Linked DNA regions of Homo sapiens: all the other regions are linked to region 3. Evidence: promoter capture Hi-C in human tissues and cell types (Jung and others, 2019). All regions are on one chromosome and are shown on one strand. The core of a region is centred on a gene start or on the middle of the fragment in contact, and the rest is flanking DNA. Distances in the headings are between cores, read along the strand shown.

The links. Contacts are between HindIII fragments. The study calls those that stand out against the background at their distance.
Region 1: a fragment that was not itself captured here is called in contact with the fragment with the promoter of WFDC2 in region 3 in 3 of the 25 tissues and cell types used here (liver, mesendoderm cells and thymus).
Region 2: the fragment with the promoter of WFDC8 here is called in contact with the fragment with the promoter of WFDC2 in region 3 in 2 of the 25 tissues and cell types used here (mesendoderm cells and thymus).

The regions. Positions count from the first base shown.
Region 1 is chr20:45,387,883-45,391,748 of GRCh38, forward strand. The region is part of intron 3 of SYS1-DBNDD2 (SYS1-DBNDD2 readthrough (NMD candidate)); the gene reads left to right. It also overlaps the pseudogene NDUFB4P10. Among named protein-coding and RNA genes, the nearest start is that of TP53TG5, 11 kb to the left of the region's middle. The HindIII fragment of the contact is 5,202 bases long and covers 1-3,866 here.
Region 2 is chr20:45,577,890-45,581,986 of GRCh38, forward strand. It overlaps WFDC8 (WAP four-disulfide core domain 8), which reads right to left and starts at 1,395. Exons shown (of 6, transcript NM_130896.3): 1 at 1,333-1,395. The coding sequence starts at 1,358. RefSeq lists an enhancer at 210-1,145. The HindIII fragment of the contact is 18,093 bases long and covers 1-4,097 here.
Region 3 is chr20:45,467,265-45,471,082 of GRCh38, forward strand. It overlaps WFDC2 (WAP four-disulfide core domain 2), which reads left to right and starts at 2,489. Exons shown (of 4, transcript NM_006103.4): 1 at 2,489-2,596; 2 at 3,125-3,268. The coding sequence starts at 2,518. RefSeq lists silencers at 3,154-3,343, 3,364-3,413. The HindIII fragment of the contact is 12,073 bases long and covers 1-3,818 here.

The sequences.
Region 1 (3,866 bases), core at 1,213-3,712, 79 kb before region 3:
TTAACAGATCTCTAGCCAGGTTAACCAATTTTTTTTAGAAAAAGAAAGATACAAATTACCAATATTAGAAATTTGTTTGTTTGTTTGTTTGTTTTTGAGATGGAGTCTCATTCTGTTGCCCAGGCTGGAGTGCAGTGGCGTGATCTTGGATCACTGCAACCTCCGCCTCCTGAGTTCAAGTGATTCTCCTGCCTCAGCCTCCCGAGTAGCTAGGATTACAGGCACATGCTACCACACCCGTCTAATTTTGTACTTTTAGTAGAGGCGGGGTTTCACCATTTTGGCCACGCTGGTCTCGAACACCTGACCTCAGGTGATCCACCCACCTTGGCCTCCTAAAGTATTGAGATTACAGGTGTGAGCCACTGCGTCCAGCCCACATGTATTATTTAGAAATGTGGTGGGATTTTTGGATTAATAGAAGTGTATTTAAGCAGGAATACATAAAATCGTCATTGCTAGACTTAATATGAGATGTTAAATGTTTGATCCAATTTTTCTTCCTGGATAAGCTTTTCTTTCCTATCCCTACCGGATCCGATTCCACATAGAGCTACTGGATGAGTATTTGATAATGGGTCTGAAATTGGGATAGACATGTGCTGATCTTACACAAGTCCAACAAATTAAGCCAAGATGTTTGATGAGCCCTCGATGAATCATCATTGGTTAGGGTCATTGTGCTGATTAAGTACCCCTGTTTAAACCCAGATTTATGGCCAAATGCTCAGGTTGCAGTTTGTGGAGGTATGTCATATTCAGCTGGATTGAGGGTCATGGGCAGAGGGGCCAGGTGTGATGGAGTATAGTTTGGGAGAGTCATCTTGGTGACCCAGTGCACAACTGCGCCTCTTGACTCATGTATTATTCAGAAATGAGGTGTTTAATTTCCATATGTTTGGAGATTTACCTATTATCTTTTTGTTATTGATTTCTAGTTTGATTTCATTGTGATCTCAGAACACATGCTGTGCGATTTTGATTTTCAAAAATTCCTTGAGGCCGGGAGCAGTGGTTCATGCCTGTAATCCCAAGTCTCTTGGATGCCACGGTAGGAGGATCACTTGAGGATAGGAGTTGAAGGCTGCAGTAAGCCATGATCGGCACCACTGCACTCCGGCCTGGGCAATAGAGCAAGATGCTGTCTCTTTAAAAAAATTTTTTTTAGTTGACTTTTATTCTGTGACTTAAGATATAGTCTTGGTGAGTGTTCCATAAGCATTTCAAAAGAATGTGAATCTTGTTATTGTTATGTGAAGTATTGTCTAAATATTAATTAGATTCTTTTGATTGATGGCTTTTTAAAGTTCTTATACATCCTTGCTGCTTTCCTGTCTAGTGTTTCTTTTTTTTTTTTTTTGAGACAGAGTCTTGCTCTGTCGTCCAGGGTGGAGTGCAGTGGCACAATCTCGGCTCACTGCAGCCTCCGCCTCCCGGGTTCAAGCAATTCTCCTGCCTTAGCCTCCCGAGTAGCTGGGATTACAGGCGCCCGCCACCACACCCGGCTAATTTTTATATTTAGTAGAGACAGGGTTTCACCATGTTGGCCAGGCTGGTCTTGAACTCCTGACCTTAGGTGATCCACCCGCCTTGGCCTCCCAAAATGTTGGGATTACAGGTGTGAGCCACCATGCCCACCCTTCTGTCTAGTATTTCTATCAAGTGTTGAGAGAGATGTGTTGAAGTCTCCAACTTTAATAGTAGATGTCTATTTTTTTTTTCAGTTCTACCAATTTTTGTTTCATAGATTTTTAAGATCTGTTGTTTGGTATGTACACATGTATGATTGCTATGTCTTCTTTGTGATTTGACCCATTTAATATCTTTTTTTGGCCCTGGTGATTTTCTTTGCTCAGCAGTCTATTTCATCTGATATTGAAATTGCTAACTCTGCTTTCTTTTAATTAATCTTTGTATGGTGTATCTTTTTTCATCCTTTTATGTTCAGTCTACCTATGTCATATTTGAAGTGAGTTTCTTGTAGAGAGCTTATTTTGGGTCATTTTTTTCACTCCGTTTTGCCAGTCTCAGAGTTATAAAGTATATTTATAGACTACCGGCAGTTAATGCAATTATTTGTTAGGGTTTAAGCCTGCCATTTGATTGTTTTCTTTTCATTCCCTCTGCTTTTCATTCTTCTCTTTTATTTCTCTACTCTTCCTATGGGTTAAACAGTTTTTAGAATTCCATTTTTTTTATCTATGGTGAAGTGTTTTTTTTAAGTGTATCTCTTTGTGTAGGTTTTTTAGTGGCTGCTTTCTATATTACATCATACATAACATAATCTATGACCATCTACTGGTATCGACACTTTTGCCACTTTGAGTGAGGGATAGAAGCCTGACCTCTATTTAGGTCCCTTTACCCTTCTCCTTTCATAATGTAATTGTCTTAAATATCTTCATTACATAAATTGAATCCACATCAGACCATGTTATATAATTTCTGTTTTAGCCATCAAACATAATTTAGAAAATGCAAGTGAAGAAGGATAGCCCATCATATTTACCCATATTTTTATTATTTCCATTGTTCTTTCTTCACTCCTGATGTTTCGGGTTTTCTTCTTTCATCATTTCCTTTATGTTTGGAGAACTTCCTTTAGCCATTCTTTCACGGTACAGCAGGTCCTCAAATAATGTTATTTTGTTTAACGTCATTTCTTTATAATGTTGATGAGAAAAAAAAACAACAACTGATTCCCAGCCATGGCCACTGTCTGTGTAGAGTTTGCACATTCTCGTCATGTCTGTGTGGGTTTTCTCTGGGCACTCCAATTTCCTCCCACATCCCAGAGATGTGCACATTAGGTTAATTGGTGTATCTAAATTATCTAAATTATCCAAGTATGAGTGAGGGGTGTGTGTGTGTGTGCGTGCACGCATTCTGTGATGGAATGGCATCCTTTCCAGGGTGCCTTGCACCCTGAGCTGCCAGAATAAGATTCAGCCACCCAGGACCCTGAAATGGAATAAGCAGGTTGGAAATGAAGAATAAGTGAATACAAATTATTGTAAAATAAAAATTTGTAAAGTATATAATAATCATACAAATGCATAACAGTAAATAATTTGGTATAAGAGCACTCAGCCAGCCTGCCATATTTATTATTGTTTTTGAACTGCATGGTGGTAGGAGATACTCCTTACAATTTTTGCTCTGCAAAGATTTATTCCTTGGTTTAACTCACCACCATGATGACTGCTGTCACTCACTGCTTATACTAATCCAGCATGACCTCACTTTAATTACATCACCAATAGGTGAGTAAATAATGAACTTCCCTGTTTTATTAATCTTTCTTAAATGTATGTATAGCTCACATTTATTTTAATGTTTAATACTAGATGTGTCTGGGCATTTATTTAGAAGCGTGGTATTGTTTTTGTGACCAGAAGTATGCTGTATGGACTTACCTTGTTAATATCAATTAGTCTACGATAAACTTGCTTTCATTATACATCATTTTGGTTAAAGTTGCAGTTTCCAAGAAACTATTGATGACATTAAGGACTTACTATAGTTCTTCAGTTAACAAATTATGTTAGTTTTTCCTTCATTTGAGAATGTCTTGACTTTCATACCTGAAGGATTTTTTCACTTTGCTTAGCATTCTGGGTTGACGGTTTTTTCTTTCAGTACTTAAACATATTGTGCCACTTCTTTCTGGCTTTCACAGTTTCTGATGAGAAATCTGCTGCAATTTAAATTGTTGCTGTATTATTGGTAAGGTTAATTTCTCTGCAACTGCTTTCAAGACTTTAGTTTTCAGAAATTTGTTTATGGTGTGTCTTGTATGGATTTCTTTGGTTTATCATGCTTGGGGTTTAGTCAGCTTCTTGAATCCGTGTGTGTATGTCTTTCAT
Region 2 (4,097 bases), core at 145-2,644, 110 kb after region 3:
CCAGCTACTCAGGAGGCTAAGGCAGGAGGATCCCTTGAACCCAGAAGGTGGAGGTTGCAGAGAGCCGAGATCACACCACTATGCTCCAGCCTGGGGGACAGAGAGAGATTCCCTCTCAAACAAAACAAAAAAAATAAAAATAAAAATAAATAAATAAATAAAGTATGTAGAGTTTTATTTAATAATTAACCACACAGATTAAAAAATAGAAAGTAGCCAGCTTCCCAGAAGTCTTCTGTGTGCACCTTCTAATTACCATCTCTGTCATGTGTCTTCAGACAGAAGCACATATAAAAACAAGGTTATGTATTGATCAAATGATGAAAATGTGTGGTCAGAGGCTTGCATTTTCCCTAGGAGCAATGGCTCAGTATTTGCTAATCCGGTGTTCACAGTGACTTTACAGAACATAACTACCCCCAAGTAATGGGAATCAACTGTATTTTTATTACTTTGGTGTACAAAGAACTTTGAGCTCTCCATGGCTTGCCACAACAAAAGACTTCCTAGGCAAATTGTCTACTGCTTTGTTCCAAGTGGGGGCTCTACTTGAGGCTGTGGGACCAAGACAAAAGAAGCAGCCTCTATGTGGATTAGGCCCCTTCTCCTGGCAGAGAGAAAGCACAAAGGAGCTGGCAGAAACTCACAGTGCAAAACTCACTATGCATATGCTACATCTGCTCATACTCCAATAGGCAAAGCACAGCTGACAGCAAACCCAAAGTCAATGAGACAGAAATGTGTCTTCCTTCCACGGGCCGTTCTAAAATTGCAAGGTAATGGACAGGAGTGTCCTCTTAAAGGAAAGATGGAATGAATAGTTGTGAATAATAATATAACCCATCACTACTACTCCTGTTTTAATTTTTTGAAAATGTTTAGATACATATTATATGCTTGTTTAATTTAAAATATCAAACTTTACCTTGCTCAGGCTCTGCCCCTCCACACTGGGCCACTCAAAGATGCCCAACTTACCCTACTTGGGCTCCAACAGCCATATCAGGTTGCATTCGAGACCAGCCTGGCCAACATGGTGAAACCCCGTCTCTACTAAAAATGCAAAACTTAGCCGAGCGTGGTGGCGCACACCTGTAGTCCCAGCTACTAGGGAGGCTAAGGCAGGAGAATCGCTGGATGCATTGATGCCCTCTTCACCCTGCTTAGGCTCTGATTCCTGACACAAGACAGCTCTGTTCTGTGGAACCCCTCCTCACTATGCTTGGCCCAACTCCCCACAGCCGACCACTCTAACTTCTATGTATCCTCCTCATCTCCTTGGGCTCAGACCCTCCATGTCTGGCTACCCACCCCCATAGACACCCTCCTCACCCTCCTTCAGTTCGGACAGTCCACATCAGGCCTCTTCCCTATGGAGACAGCTTCCTCACTTTGCTCCAGCTCTAAGGCTCCTCCCTCATCTGCTCCCCTGCCTGGACACTCTGCTCACCCCACTCAGGCTCTCATTCTATGCCAGTCTGCCCCTCTAGCCCCAGGGGGATGCCTTTCTCAACATGGGCAGGCTGGTCTCCATGCTATGCTGCTTCTTGCCTCTTCACTGGGCATTCTCATCTACCCCTGGCTCCAGCACACCAGGCCAGCAGCCCTCCTACAGAGACACCCTCCTTGACCTGTTCCAGCTCTGATGCCCACACGGAGCCAGCCGTGGCTCCCTTCCCCTTGGGGCAAACGCCTACCTTGCTAAATGTGCCTATCTAATGGCTTTAGGACTGACTAGTTCAGTTAGTAAAGAAAAGGAGACAAAACAAGGAAGAGCTACTTTTCCTTTTTGTAAAAATATGTATTGTGAAAAACACCACAAAAATAAAAATATGCATGAAACATTAATGTTCAGTCTAACGAACTATTACGAAGTGACCACTCATTAAACTATCACTGAAATCAAGTAAAAAATTTCCAACACTTTCTGCTCCTTTTTCATTCTTTTCCAGTCACAACCCCTTCCTATGCTCTCAAAGGCAGCTAATGGTAGTGACTTTCTTTTTCATATTTTCAAGATCATATGTATTCCCCTAAATATGTTTTTGTTTTTGTCTGCTTCTGTTCTATATCAATGGAGTCACTTGGAATGTATTCTTTTGTGCCTGGCTTTTTGTGTTCAACATTATATTAATGAATTCCATCCACATTGTTTTGTGTAGCTGTATTTTGTCAATTTTCATTGCCATGCCATCTATTGTATGACTACACACATCTCTACTGAGTTGTTTATAGTTTGCAGCTGTTAAGAATAAAGCTGCTGTGTGTATACATAGCATGTATGTAATAACGTTCTGCACGTGTATCCCAGAACTTAAAGTATAATAAAAAACTAGGATTTTCTAAATAAAAATGTTATTTATATCAACATGTAATAAGTTTATTACGTTAAATGAATTAATAAATGTTTTTAAATGTCAAAAAAATTTTAAACAATTTACTCATGTAAAAAAAAGAATAAAGCTGCTATGAACACTCTGTGTGCATTTGCTGGAGCACGTGGGCAGGTGTTCTTGTAGGTTATACATTCAGCATAGGGAATGATGGGTTACAGGGTATGCATATCTTCAGCTTCTCAAGCTGATACCAAATTATTTCCCAAAGAGTTTGTACCAATTCACAGCCTTGCCATTGGTAGTTGAGAGTTCCTATTGTTCCATAACCATGCTGTATGTAGAACTGTCACAATCTTTTCATTTTTACCATCCTGCTACGAGTATGGAAATACATCACTGTGGACTTAATTTAAATTTCTTGACTACTAATGAGGTTGAGCACCTTTTTAGATCTTTATTAACCACTTGGCTATCCTCTCTTTGATTTTCTTTTCAAATGTTTTGCTCATTGTTCTCTGGGGTTTTCTGACTTTTTCTTGCTGATTTCTACTGGAGTCATGTCTTTCCTCAGTTATATGTATTATGAACATCTTCCAGGATCAAGGGTAATCTTCTAAAACCCTTATTGGCTTGTCTTTTACCTTTTGAATGAAAGTTTTTATCACGTGCCCTTCCTACCCCAAAGACAGAATCAGGAATCCTTTTTCTATGTTCCTTTCCTACAATACAATAACTCGCTACAATACAATACAGTAACTCCAATATCTGAAGTCTTTGTGGACCTCTGCTGTTGGTTGTTTTTCTTGATTTTTTTCATCTTGTTTTCTTAAGATCTGTGTGATTTTTTTTATTGTGAGAGTACATATTTAATGGAAGTTTATGTATGTAACAATACTTTGTGGAATTTCTTGGATTCCTGTGTTTAAAGGAGAATTCTTCCGAATCAACTTGTCCTCAATTTTTCCCTAACAACTCATGCAATTTTGAATTAAATTCATAGCTTTAGATTTATCAGACCATGCACATGTGCCAATTTTCCTACTCTGCTCTTATGAAAGGAAACAAGGTTGCAGTTACAAATTCTCAGAATAGTCTTTTTTTTTTTTTTTGAGATGGAGTCTCGCTCTGTTCCCCAGGCTGGAGTGCAGTGGCACTATCTCAACTCACTGCAACCTCCTTCTCCCGGGTTCAAGTGATTCTCCTGCCTCAGCCTCCTGAATAGCTGGGATTACAGACACGCACCACCACGCCTGGCTAATTTTTTTGTATTTTTAGTAGAGATGGGGTTTCACCATGTTGGTCAGGCCGGTCTCGAACTCCTGGCCTCGTGATCCACCCACCTCTGCCTCCCAAAGTGCTGGGATTACAGGCATGACCCACTGCACCCAGCCCAGAGTAGTCTTTTTTCCTGTTTTGTTCAGAGCCAAAGCCAAGACAGGCAAGTTCCTTCACCACAGTTGTGCATGTGTGTGTTTCTGTTTCATCCATTTATTTCTGTTTCATCCATTTATTAAGGTGTCAGCATTTGGTGATCCTTGTGAGTGAGATTTCTGATCTGACTTTTCACATTGCTTAGGGCTTAGCTCTTTTTTCTTGCCCTTGCCAGGGGCCCACTAAAATTCAAACTGCAGATTACCAGGCATTGGCAGATACTCCCAGGGAAGCCTCTAACTAAAGCACTTCCTTATCTCTCTGGAGTCAGACCTTCACATCATTTTTGGCTTTTAAGAATTCCTCTTTCTTGCCAACTGACTCATTGAT
Region 3 (3,818 bases), core at 1,239-3,738:
GAAGGGAAGGGAAGGGGAGGAGATGGGAGGGGAGGGGAGGGGAGGGAAGCCTGGGGGACAGAGCAAAACTCAGTCTCAAAAAAACAAAAACAACAAAAAAAATGATTCTGACGCATGCTCAATTTTGAGACCTGCTGCTCTAGCTGATGGTTGTTATATCTAAGATTGCAGGACTGTGTTGCCAGATCTTTTACTTTTTCCAAGAGAAGCTAGAGGTTTATTTTTATATGAAATTCGCTACTTTTAAATCTTGGCAACTAATTTAAAAATTTAAAACATACTGTGTAGTTAATAATGTATGTGCTCTAGCCAGATTTGCAACCTCTGATTTATGCTTTTTCCTTTAACCCTTATAATAATCTTATAAAACCCTTATAATAATCATCCAAGACTGTTAGGATGATACACAGTTTATGCAGGAAGAAGATGCAGGCCCAAAACATGAAGTGTTTCTCTAAGTCACATAGCCAGAAAGTGGCCATGGATGCATTGTCCCTGATTGGGCATGGATGCATTTGGTTCTAAAGCCTCTGCCCTTTTAAATGATGTAAAGAGAATATCTATAACTATACCTAGCACGGAACTTGGCACCACAAAAGCTAAACATCTGATGCCATTGACTGATGAAAATTCCTTCCCCATCCTTCTGCCTGGCCCTGCCACTCTCCCTCAGTCTGTATTCCTGTAAGAGAGAGCCAATCAATAGGGTGCTCATAAGGGCCTGGGAGGAGCAAGGCTGGGCAGTTTCCTGGCCCAGGGAGCTGAATAGGGCCCGGAAGAAAGCTGTTGGCAGCAGTGCCTGGGGCTGAATGTACAGTAGCCAGCTGGGTCCACGGGCTAAAAACTGGCTGCTCACCCCAGTGTTCTCTTTGTGCCCTAGACTGGGTTTCACTAGCCTGTTATGGGCTGTGTTCCCACCTGGCTCCTGCCCTCATTGTTGACTGAGCTCAGAGTAAATAGCCCTGGCCCCTCCCAATAACGTCCCCAGTCCCCAAGTTGAGCATGAGAAGCTGGGGGAGGTGTTCTCAGCATCCATTTTGGGGACAGTGGCCAGATGTACTCACATCACCAAACCCTACTCACCTGTCACTATCATCCCAGTGTTCACTGCCCCAGGGCCCCTCTAGCCTCCAGCAGCAAAGACCTCCTGGGGCTTCTAGAACCTCAGATCATTGGAGCAGGAAGCACTTCTTGTCTAACTCCCTGGGTAACTCTGTTTTGGCACTTAACCCCCTGGATTCTAAAGCTTCATTTATACTTATTGGTCTCCTTCGTCACAGGAGACACTTATCTGTGGAGCACTCATGGCCATGTATCCAGTACCTATCATGGGTCAGGCCTGGAGTCCCTGTGTCAATCAGTGTGGATCTACTCTCAATGCTCCCAGTGAGTACATGGTTGTTCCGTGGCAGGAACGTTGCATTTGTGTTCTCACTGAAGTCCCATATAGGTGTCATTTTCACTGATGATGTGGCAGCTCAGATCCAGGAAAGGATTCATTCCAGGGCCCTCAGGTGGGAAGTGGTGGAGGTGGGAGTCAGACCCCAGACCCTGTCACCCCTTCAAGACCAGTGCTGGAGGGCCCCTTTTGACGACTTTCTCTTCACCAAGCGTCTTGCCCTGCATATGTCACACAGTAGGCACCCAGTGAATATTTACGACGGAATGGAAAAAACAAGGGCCTGGAGGGAGAGACCTGGGTTCAAAACCTTATTTGTACAGCTTTGCAGGGGACCTTGTGGTGGAGGTGCGGTCCTAAATCCCTAAACACTCAGTTCCTTTGTCATATACAGCTGATAACAGTAACTCCCCGGTCAGAGGACCGGCGACAATTCCTTGAGACAAGGAGCACAGAGCCTGGCACAGTCAGCCCTGATCAGGGGCCGGTAGGACAAAGAGAGGGAGACAGAAACACACACCCAAACGGCTTGAGACTGCTAGGTGCTTCACCTTCCTGGGCCTGTTTCTGATGAGGAGGGTTTGTTTATTAATAATAAGTGCTATTTCTGTAGCCCCTACTATGTGCTCTGTATCACTACCCTAGCCCTCCATCAAGAGGGATCTGCCCTCTCATCTGGCTGACCCCAAATCGAACCCTTTAACCCGCATGCTCTACTGCCTCCCTGCGGGCCCTGCCTTATCCTCCTCAACCGCCCACTGGGGACACTCTGGAGAAACCTCGGAGTCTTGGAATAGAAACCCAGGAGCCCTGAGCCTTGGCCCTCAGGCCCCAGGAGGGAGGTCAGGAGGGAGGCGTGGACAAGGGTCCGGCCGTAGCTGGTCCCGTCCTGGAAGCTGCTTAAGTTCCTGGTTCCCACCGGGGCCAAGAGTGATACCTGATCCTGGGGGATTGTGAAATGACCTCATGTGGCAGCCCGCCCGCGGTGCCCGCAAAGCCCTCCACCCTCCCCTTCCCCGCTCGGCTCCACCCCTACCCCACGCCCCCTCCCGCGCGCGCGGTTAAATCCCCGCACCTGAGCATCGGCTCACACCTGCACCCCGCCCGGGCATAGCACCATGCCTGCTTGTCGCCTAGGCCCGCTAGCCGCCGCCCTCCTCCTCAGCCTGCTGCTGTTCGGCTTCACCCTAGTCTCAGGTGAGTGGGGCGGGGAGAGGCCCGGCGCCTAGAGGGGCCGAGCCACGAGCGCCAGGATGGAGCCAGGCGGAGGCGTAGCCTCTGGAGGCTGGGGAAGTGGGAATTCCGGGGGCGGAAGTGGCGGGGACCCTTGGAGCCTAGGGTGTGGGGTCCAATGTGCTGGAGGTGGAGAGACCACTGATGGCTGCAATTTGGGAGGATTCTGTGCTGAACGCGGACACTCCGTGGCTGCAGTGGGCTGGGGGTGGGGGCTGCTCTGCCTCGACCTCGGAAGCTCCGAGACGCTCAGCTGTGCGGCGTCCCCTAGGGCTGAGATCTGAGGGCCCCGACGCCAAGGGTTAGGGAGCTCTCGTACTCCCAGGGGTCAGGGACTCCTGGTCTGGAAGAAGGAGTCTCTGGGGGCTGTAAGGGGACTCCTAGGGCCAGAGACTGAGAATTCCTTGGGGTTAAGGTTTGGAGCAGGAGGTGGGCATCCTCTGGGGCTGGCGCTACGCCCCACCCTCGACTGTCCCGGGCCTCCCCTCCCAGGCACAGGAGCAGAGAAGACTGGCGTGTGCCCCGAGCTCCAGGCTGACCAGAACTGCACGCAAGAGTGCGTCTCGGACAGCGAATGCGCCGACAACCTCAAGTGCTGCAGCGCGGGCTGTGCCACCTTCTGCTCTCTGCCCAATGGTAACCCCACGGCGGCCGAGCGGGAACGGGGCGGGGCCGCGCTGGGCTGGGAGGAGGTGGGAGGGCCCGGGTTCCGGGAACAGGGGCGCCCCCGGACCCGGGGACCCCCGGGAAAGTCAAGGCGGTTGAAACCAGATCCGTCAGTCCTCTCCCTCGCACGGCCCAGGGGTAGACAAAGGCGTCGTTGAAACGCAGCCAAGGGGGGGTCCCCACCCCTAGCTGGGATTCGAGTCTCTGGTGCATGACGGGCTTCCGGGCACGCACAGCCGGGACATTGTTCCCCGCGGCCTGGGGACCCGGGGCCGCAGTTTCCTTCTCGAACCGGCCGAAGCCTGCCCTGCGGGAAAGCCCGGAGCCTGGGGCGCTCACCTCTCCTCTTGGAGTCCCTCCCTGGGGGCCTCCCCCAGCCCTGGGGAAAGACTGGGAGAGCCTGGCCTGGCAAGATTTTCCCCAATTCCTCTGTCCAGGCGGAAAGGAACTTTACAGATTTAGGAAAATGCCCCGCTCATCTTAAAGATGTGTAAGGGAGCATCGGTGAGAAAAAAATGTT